2 separate regions of the Homo sapiens genome follow, and region 2 is linked to region 1. Evidence: promoter capture Hi-C in human tissues and cell types (Jung and others, 2019). All regions are on one chromosome and are shown on one strand. The core of a region is centred on a gene start or on the middle of the fragment in contact, and the rest is flanking DNA. Distances in the headings are between cores, read along the strand shown.

Evidence for each region. The method cuts DNA at HindIII sites, captures the fragments that hold promoters and counts their contacts. A contact is called where the count stands out against the background at its distance.
Region 2: a fragment that was not itself captured here is called in contact with the fragment with the promoter of RBKS in region 1 in 1 of the 25 tissues and cell types used here (spleen).

What each region holds. Positions count from the first base shown.
Region 1 is chr2:27,888,440-27,892,625 of GRCh38, reverse strand. It overlaps RBKS (ribokinase), which reads left to right and starts at 2,239. Exons shown (of 8, transcript NM_022128.3): 1 at 2,239-2,369. The coding sequence starts at 2,281. BABAM2 (BRISC and BRCA1 A complex member 2) reads right to left here and starts at 1,897. Exons shown (of 12, transcript NM_199191.3): 1 at 1,784-1,897. BABAM2-AS1 (BABAM2 antisense RNA 1) reads left to right here and starts at 1,512. Exons shown (of 1, transcript NR_028308.1): 1 at 1,512-3,170. RefSeq lists a silencer at 1,772-2,051. The HindIII fragment of the contact is 18,364 bases long and covers 1-4,186 here.
Region 2 is chr2:28,474,138-28,478,494 of GRCh38, reverse strand. No RefSeq gene overlaps it. Among named protein-coding and RNA genes, the nearest start is that of PLB1, 20 kb to the left of the region's middle. RefSeq lists an enhancer at 1,233-1,282. The HindIII fragment of the contact is 3,963 bases long and covers 180-4,142 here.

The DNA of each region.
Region 1 (4,186 bases), core at 990-3,489:
ATTATAATTTGATTCTGAACAGTATACTAATCCACATCATAATTTTGAAGCCTATTTTTTTCTATTCGCCAACATTTCCACCTTCATGTCTATGTCACAATTCTTGAAGGGATGCTTATCAAAGTCATATGCTAAGTACAAATATACCTATCTTATAAAAAAGCAAAAGGGTCTCACCTATATTACCGAATTGTTCTTCTGTGTTTTTCCCCACAGTACCCATTATTACTTTATCTCTTGCTTCTACAAAAGAAGGAAACAGAACCAACACATTCTAGACACCTATCTACCCATTATCAGGCATTATATTACTCATCTCTATCTGTAATTTCATTTACATTTCCCCAACTCTGTTCCCTGAGAACAATAATTGTTCCCATTTGACAAGTGGAAGCTAAAGAAACTTGACAAATAGAAAATTAAAGCTCAGCAAAATAAAATAACTTGTTGAATGTTGGAAGCTGGAGGATCAGAATCCAAATCCGGATTCTCCAAGTCCACTATACCCATCTTTCTCTCAAATAAACATTGATAACTTCTATCACCAAAGAGAAAAGCATCAAGGTGATTTTGTAAAGCGTATATCTTATAAAATGTGAACAGACAAAAAGTAAAAATTTAAACAAATGATTGCTTTACCACTAAAAACAAACTGGACTATTGCTGACCTACTGCTGAACCTGGTCTGAGTGATTCACTAGTCAAATGTTAAAGGGAACAGCCTTGCTCTAGAAGCCAAACCATACTAAGTGACAACAATACATTCTAATTCAGCAACGGTCGTGACTTTAGGATGACACCTGAGGGAATGAATTCTATTTCCAGGGCAGCCATAATACTATGTTTTAACAGTGCAAGGTTTCACGCAGTATTAAAATCTATTTCAACCATGAGGAGGTGTGACTTCTCTAAAAAAAAAGGGCGGGGGGTGGGGAGTGGAACACAATGACTCCAAAATCAGAAGTCACTTAGCCAAAAACACTGGTCCTTTGGTGCAGTGAACCGGGTACATGGACAGGGAGTCACCACCGGTAGTAACTCTTACGCATGGCAGCACTATAATACACCCCAGATATACAAATATTTACGGTGGTCAGAGTCCCCTGAATACTACTACTGCAATTTGTATTTCCTGATTTTGACGTATTGCAAAAGGAAAATGCAAAATTACAATTTTTGCAAGGGTCTGCTACCCCAAAATAAAGTTACAAAAGGTCCTTTGATGAGAGGCCTGGGGATTACAAAGACGTCTAAAGCACCATCCAGGTTCTTGCAATTAAAATGAGATGACAAACACGGAAACATGTGCCCTGCTGACGTCATGGAACGGAAAGGGGTGGCATCCTGCTGCGTCACGTCGACGTCATACAGCGCACGAGGGAAGTTACACTGGGGAAGCAATTTCCCCCAAGGGGCAACATTCGAGAAAAACAAGTTAGCTCAGACCCGAAGAATGACCACCCCACTCTAGGGGACGTCTTAAAAAGGGACACTCTCCCCTCTTCCAAACTGTATGATTCCCCTCATCAGGCAACAAGGAACTAATACTCGGGGTTTACAGGAACCAGGGGATGGGCCAGATATGGAGAAAGAGACGCCTCTGGCCTTGGGGGCTCGTTCTTGAGGGAATCAGCGTGATGGGGATGAGAAGGGCATCTTTGGAACGGGGGCCTTCTCCATAGGAAGAGGAGGCGAGTCCCCTGGCCATATTTAAACCACAGTTCTCCACGCCACCTGTGCGACTCGGGATCCAACCTCCCCGCACCAGCCCCAGTCCAGGTACCTGGAACTTAGTCCGATCGGTAACCGGCGACTACGTGGGGTACAGGTACCCGAGCGCGCCCCCGACAGACGCACCGACCTGCGCGCGCGCCGCGGGCAGGATGCGTGCGCACTCCCCGGACGTCCCGCCCCGCCCCCTCTGCGGCCCCGAAGCTGGGCGGCGTGCGCGCCCCCGCGCCGCGCCGAGCCGGGCGCTCGGAAAGGCGTCCCCGCGGTGCCTGACAGTTCCTTCCTCAGCGCCTGCCCCGTGAGTGACGAGGAGCGCGGAGTCTCGCCATATCAGGAGGGCCCTGTTACGTGAGGCTGTGCACCGAGACTATTCCAGGAAGAAGAGGGGACACTTGGTGGGCGGGGTGATTTCGGGCAGTCAGGTGGGCGACCCGCGTAGGCGTCTGAAAGGCCCGCGTCGTTAGGGAGGGCAGGAGTGGCGTCTCTGGTTACGGGGTCGGGCAAAGGGCAGAGGTCACCGTCCAGGTTGGACAGCAGCACCTTTGAGCGATGGCGGCGTCTGGGGAACCCCAGAGGCAGTGGCAAGAGGAGGTGGCGGCGGTGGTAGTGGTGGGCTCCTGCATGACCGACCTGGTCAGGTTAGTCCGGGGCCAGTTACTCAGTCTGCGGCTCGGGGGAGGAGGCGTGCCGTGCGCTATGCGCCCAGTGGAGCTTTTGGGCGCTGGGTCTCCAGGGATAGACAGTGCTAGCTTTGGGTATGAGCTGCAGGTTTTCGAAGCCTTCAGCCTACCTTCCTGGCATGAAAGAACTTGAGTATATAAAGGTAAATCTCAGGGGAGGGGACGTAATAGGCCAGGGTTTAGTGAAAGCTCTAATATTACTCAAAGCGCTCCCCAAAGACCTGCCCTCCAAAGACTTGCGCCCCCAAAGACCTTTCTTGGCCCGGCTGCTGAGCCTTTCCCCAAACGAGCCAGGGAACTTTGCCCACGTCATTTTACCTCCGAGAATGTGCCTACCTCACAGGGTTGTTGTGAGGACTAAATGAAGTAAAGTGTTTTGTCAAGCGTAACATTATCCAAATTGGGTATTATTCGTCTGAGCTTATTGTATAAAATAATGAGTTGAGCAGAAATCAAAAAGACTGTCACCTTTCACCATGTTGATTGTCGGCATTACTGCAGTATTTTATATTTACAGCGTATTTTTCAGCAAGCCAAGTATGAATCAAAATAAAAACATAAACACAGTATTTACAACCTCTGAAAACGATGATCAAATTATGATAGAAAATATGCCAAATGAAAATTGTTGAGTTAGGTCAGTAAGATTGAGTAGACAGATCCTTCTGATTTTTCTTTTTTTTAAATTAAGGTAGCTTTTCTGATTACAAAAGTAATGTATGTTCACTGTAAAATTAGTAATAAATTCAGATATTCCAAGAAAATCCTACCACTCCAATTACTGCAGTTCAGTCTTTTGATGAATATCTTTTCAGTTGTAATGCTACTTTGTGTTATAAAAATGATCAGGTATGCTACAGTAACACCTCATTCGTCCTGAAATGTTGCTTTTCCAAAGGGTAATAGAGAACGTGGAACTAAACAAAAAGGCTTTGGGACAATCAAAATAAGTCACCAAATTGCTGCACCAAACCACCTGTATTCTACTCAGAAAATAGGTCTAGGGTCTTCATGTAACCAATTTAACCTTACCTTAAAATATTTATAAGCTGTGTTACCAAATTTCCACTGAGATTAGAAAGGTGGGAGTTAGAGAAGAGACTGCTAGAGGCAGTTATAGTGACTGACGAAAACTTGAGGATGAGTAGGAGACTGTGTAACGAGAAGAAGCAACAAAAGAATTTTAAATACCAATGACCTTTATTTTTCCACAAATATTAGAACTATTCTGTCAGACACTGTGCCAAGATAAAAATACTTTCCTTTGGTGACAGAGCATAAAATTGAATCTAGTTGGAGACATTTGTTGAAGAGGCCTGTACATCTTTTTCTAGAGCAAGAGTAAGTAAACTTTTCTGTAAAGGGCCAGATAGTAAATATTTTAGGCTTTGCAAGCCGTATGTGGTCAAGGTCACATTTTTTTTTAACAACATTTTTTAAATGTAAAAACCATTCTTACCTCCCAAGCCTTACAAGAACATCCTGCAGGCCATAGTTTGCAGACATCTGTGTAGAAAGAACATTACTGTGTTTACAACACAATATAGCAATTGATTTTACTGGTGATGACTCTTTTCAAGAAAAGGTTATATGGTACTTACTAAATTTTGTATAAAAATAGAGCATGTATTTCACTTTAGAAAAAGTTTCATCAAAAATTCATAAAGTTGAGTTACATAAAGGAATAAACCTTCATCTAAAATGATTCATTCCATGGGAAATCCACCAAGCTAAATGTTTACCATGATTTTATGTGTGAAGTGGCAGAAGAGTAA
Region 2 (4,357 bases), core at 912-3,411, 590 kb before region 1:
GCCCCTCTTCCTTCTCAACAACTTCTATTGACTCCTGTCCTGCTCTGAACTCTCTCCTGGACTTGCCTAACTCTCCTGCCCTCACTTTTTTACACCTCCTTGCCTTTTATGATGTTCATGAAATAGAAGGATAAAAGTAACTCTTCCTGTTGTCTGGGCAGAGCCCCTAAAGTCCTAGAGCAATTCAGAAGGTGCCAAACACACTGTTTCCTAAGTTGGGATGCAGGACCACTGTGCTACTTGAGTAAGGGTCTGTGAAATCAATCATGCCATCCTCAGTCTATCACCCACCTCCAACTCTTTGGGAGACTGAAGGGGCATGGGGCACATGGTGAGGATTTCTCTGAAGGGAAGTGATCAATGGGCTGTAGGGGATATCAAAGAATGTGTCAGGCATCCCCTGAAATTTGAGGAACACAGGAACGGATTGACCGACCCACCCTTGAAAAAGCCCCTGTGTGAGAGGGAGTGGCTGGGTAAAGAGGGGCTGTCTTAGAAGAGCCTGTGCCTCCAGGGTTTAGGGGAGCAGGGATGGGCGTGGGGGCCAGATACAGAACCTGCAGAAGCAGACTCAGAAGGGGTGAGGTGAGGGCTGATGGGAGCCTGAGAGATCTTATGTGGCCAGGCCAAGGAGGCAGCCACGTCTGTTGACTGAAGCCTCAGCAATTCGAGAGGCTTCAGAGCAACCACAGACTCCTAGGGCAGAACTAACTCTGCAATCTGCCATGTCCAAGGGCACTAATGCCAGATACAGCTGCAAAAGGTCAAGCTAGCCCTTCCTGGCCTCCCTCTGCTTTCTTCCTGTCTCCTCCACCCCTGGAGCAGCCTGGGGAGAAAAGGTGAACAGAGAAGTAAGAGAAGGAGACAGTTCTCTGCCCTTGCAGCTTCCCCAGCCTGAATGGGCTTGGCAGAGACATTTTCAATGGAACAGAGCTTGAGGTTTGACATCACATGGGGCTAGATATTTTATTACATGAGAGTGGTCAGAAAAGGATGGGAGCTGCCTGGGGTTTTTCTGCGGGGCAGAATGGGTCCGAAGAATGGTTTGCTGGAGAGGATAAGGTGCTTTCTGCTTCTGTCATGTGCCCAGCTTGTTTGGGAAGGTGGTCACCTGTGTTTCCTATCTGCCTACATAGATGAATATCCTAGGTTTCAACAGACATGACTGAGCCTCCACCAGGCATTAAGCCTGGGGCCTCTCTCTATCTCTTTTGGTTTCATGCTGCAGCCCAGCTTGTCTGATCTGAAACTTTCCCTTGCCCCATTTTAAGATTTGAGAATGCATGTGTCATGAAAGCTTCTCATCAGAGGCCTGGATCCTCCAGGTACCAGACCCCATGTATCCAGGTGGATCCCACTTAGGAACCCAGGCAGCCCAAGGGCTTCTGAAATAGCAACACCTGATAGCATGTCCGCTGGGGGCTCAGGGACCCTGTCCCAGCCATGCTGGGCACAGCGCAGAGGAGAAGCCTTCTCCTCTCCTTGAGCCTCTCAGTTGCTTCTGCCAGTTAGACCCCACCTGCTAAAAGACCTCAAGGCTCCCTATAATTGTCCAAGTCAGCAGATGTCTTAAAAACGATGTGCCTCAGTCCCAAGTGTGTAGTAGTGATTTACAGAGAACATAGGGCCACTCACCTTGCAATAAATCCTCAAGGTGGACTCTCCTTTCCTGCAGGCCTCTCCCCTCCTCCTTTCTCATATGGGTGGCAAATAAAACAATTCTTTCCCCAATTCAAGGCCCAGTCCTCAATCAGCATTTCTTCCCTTCCCCTGTGGCCATCACCTCCCTGGAGCCTTGTGTTCCAGGCCCTCTCGCCTCCCTCTCACTGACCCCTGGTGCTCCAGGTGCCCAAACCTTACCCGGCACTCAAGGACAATATGCACCTCCCCTGCAAAACTCAGTGACCTGAACCCAGAGGCATCCTCCCTGAGAGGAGCCTGAGGTCAACACATGTTTACTGTGCCACTTCCATATGCCAGGTGTGCCCACTGACCTCAAAGAACTTATATTCTATATGCCAGGCGTGGCCACTGACCTCATGGAACTTGTATTCCATACGCCAGGTATGGCCACTGACCTCATGGCTGGGGCAGGGTCTCTGAAGGGACATGCTATCAGGTGTTGCTATTTCTGTTTGTTTTGTTTTTTTTTTGTTTTTGTTTATTTATTTATTTATTTATTTATTTATTTTTTGAGATAAAGTCTCGCTCTTGTCTCCCAGGCTGGAGTGCAATGGCATGATCTCGGCTCACTGCAACCTCCACCTCCTGGGTTGGAGCAATTCTCCTGCCTCAGTTTCCCAAGTAGCTGGGATTACAGGCGCCTGCCACCACGCCCGGCTACTTTTTTTTTTGTATTTTTAGTAGAGACAGGGTTTCACCATGTTGGCCAGGCTGGTCTCGAACTCCTGACCTCAGGTGATCCACCCGCCTCAGCCTCCCAAAGTGCTGGGATTACAGGCGTGAGTCACCATGCCAGGCCAGGTGTTGTTATTTCAGAAGCCCTGGGCTGCCTGGGCTCCCAGGTGGGATCCGCCTGGATACATGGGGTCTGGTACCTGAAGGATCTGGGCCTCTGATGAGAAGCTTTCATGACACATGCATTCTCAAATCTTAAAATGGGGCAAAGGAAAGTTTCTATATTCTAAGCACTGTAGAGAGGCATTCATCAAAGAATTTCACAAATGAATATAAAATGATAATATGGAAACATACCAGCAGGTGCCTCTCCTAGGCTCTTTGCACAGCTCTGTGATTAGTAGGATCTTGGGGAATTCCAGGAAAGACCAGGTGGCTGTAATGCAGAATGAAGGGAGCTTGAGGCAGGAGAGGTCAGCAGGAGCCCCCTAGGCCTTGGTAACATCTGGGCCTTTATTCTAAGAGGAAGAAGAGGCTGGTAAAGGGTTGTAAGTGGGAAAGTGACAGGACCTGCTTCATGTTTTCAAAAGCTGACAGATAGCTGCATGGAGAAGGGAAGGCTGGGAGATAAGGACAGAGCCAGGAGCCCAGTCAGGAGGCTGTCACTCTCCAAGCCAGAGCTGAAGGAGGCTCATGGTGGTGGAGAAGGAGGAAGGTGGTGGGAGGTGAGGCCAGCTGGACTTCCGGGGTTGAGTGGGGACTTAGGGAACTTCCCTGTCTCACAAGAGGATTGTAAAATGCACCAATCAGCACTCCATAAAATGCACCAATCAGCGCTCTGTAAAACACACCAATCAGCACTTTGCAGCTAAAGCACCAGTTTGGGGCCAATAAGGGAAAGGATTCTAAAAGTAGCCAATCACGGGGAGGATTGAAAAAAGGCACTCTGATAGGACAGAAATGGAACATAGGAGGGGACAATAAGGGAATAAAAGCTGGCCACCCCAGCCAGCAGCAGCAACCCACTTGGGTCCCCTTCCATGCTGTGGAAGCTTTGTTCTTTCACTCTTCACAATAAACCTTGCTACCGCTCACTCTTTGGGTCTGTGCCATCTTTAAGAGCTGTAACACTCACTGCGAAGGTCCCCGGCTTCATTCTTGAAGTCGGCCAGACCACGAACCCACCAGCAGGAACCAATTCCAGACACAGTGGGTAAGGAGATGTTCAGGAAGTGAAACTGATGGATGATGTGTGTAGGTAACGAAAGATCTCTGACCTTTGCACTGGAATGGATGCACTTCATTCCCTGCATAGGGATCACTGGGCATGGGAATTTTGGAAGAATGCAGAGGGAAATCATCAATGCAGATGTGGACACAAGCAGCATGCAGTGCCTTTAGGACACACACTCAAGAGATGCCGGAGGGGCAGGTAGACCCATGGATCAGAAACTCAGATGAGAACTCTGGGCCAGAGTGGCTAAGAGTCAGATGCAGTCACTCAAGCTGTGGCAGCAGAGCCTGCTAGGAGAGAGAACAAGGGGGAAGGGAAGGGCCTGGGGAACTCTTAATGATATTTAATAGCTGGGCAGATAAGAAAAAATCCTACAGTGCAGACAGAGGAAAAACTGATTGGAGAAGTAAAAGGTTTGTGTCAGGGAGAGAAGTATGTTTTTAAAATAGAGAATACTGCTGAAAAGTCAAGGATATGAGGCCTGGAAAATTGGGTTTTCTCAATAAATAAAAATAAAATAAAAATTGCTGACCTTAGTGGGATCCCTAGAGCCTCAGCTCAGTGTCCCTGGGCACCTATTTCCAATCTGGAATTTTTTTTTTTAAGAGACAGAGTCTCACTCTGTCATCCAGGCTGGAGTGCAGTGGCACCATCAACGCACTGCAGCCTTGAGCCTGGGCTCAAGTGATTCTCCCGCCTCAGCCTCCAGCGTAACTGGTACTACAGGCACACACCATCATGCCTGGCTAATTAAAAAAAATTTTT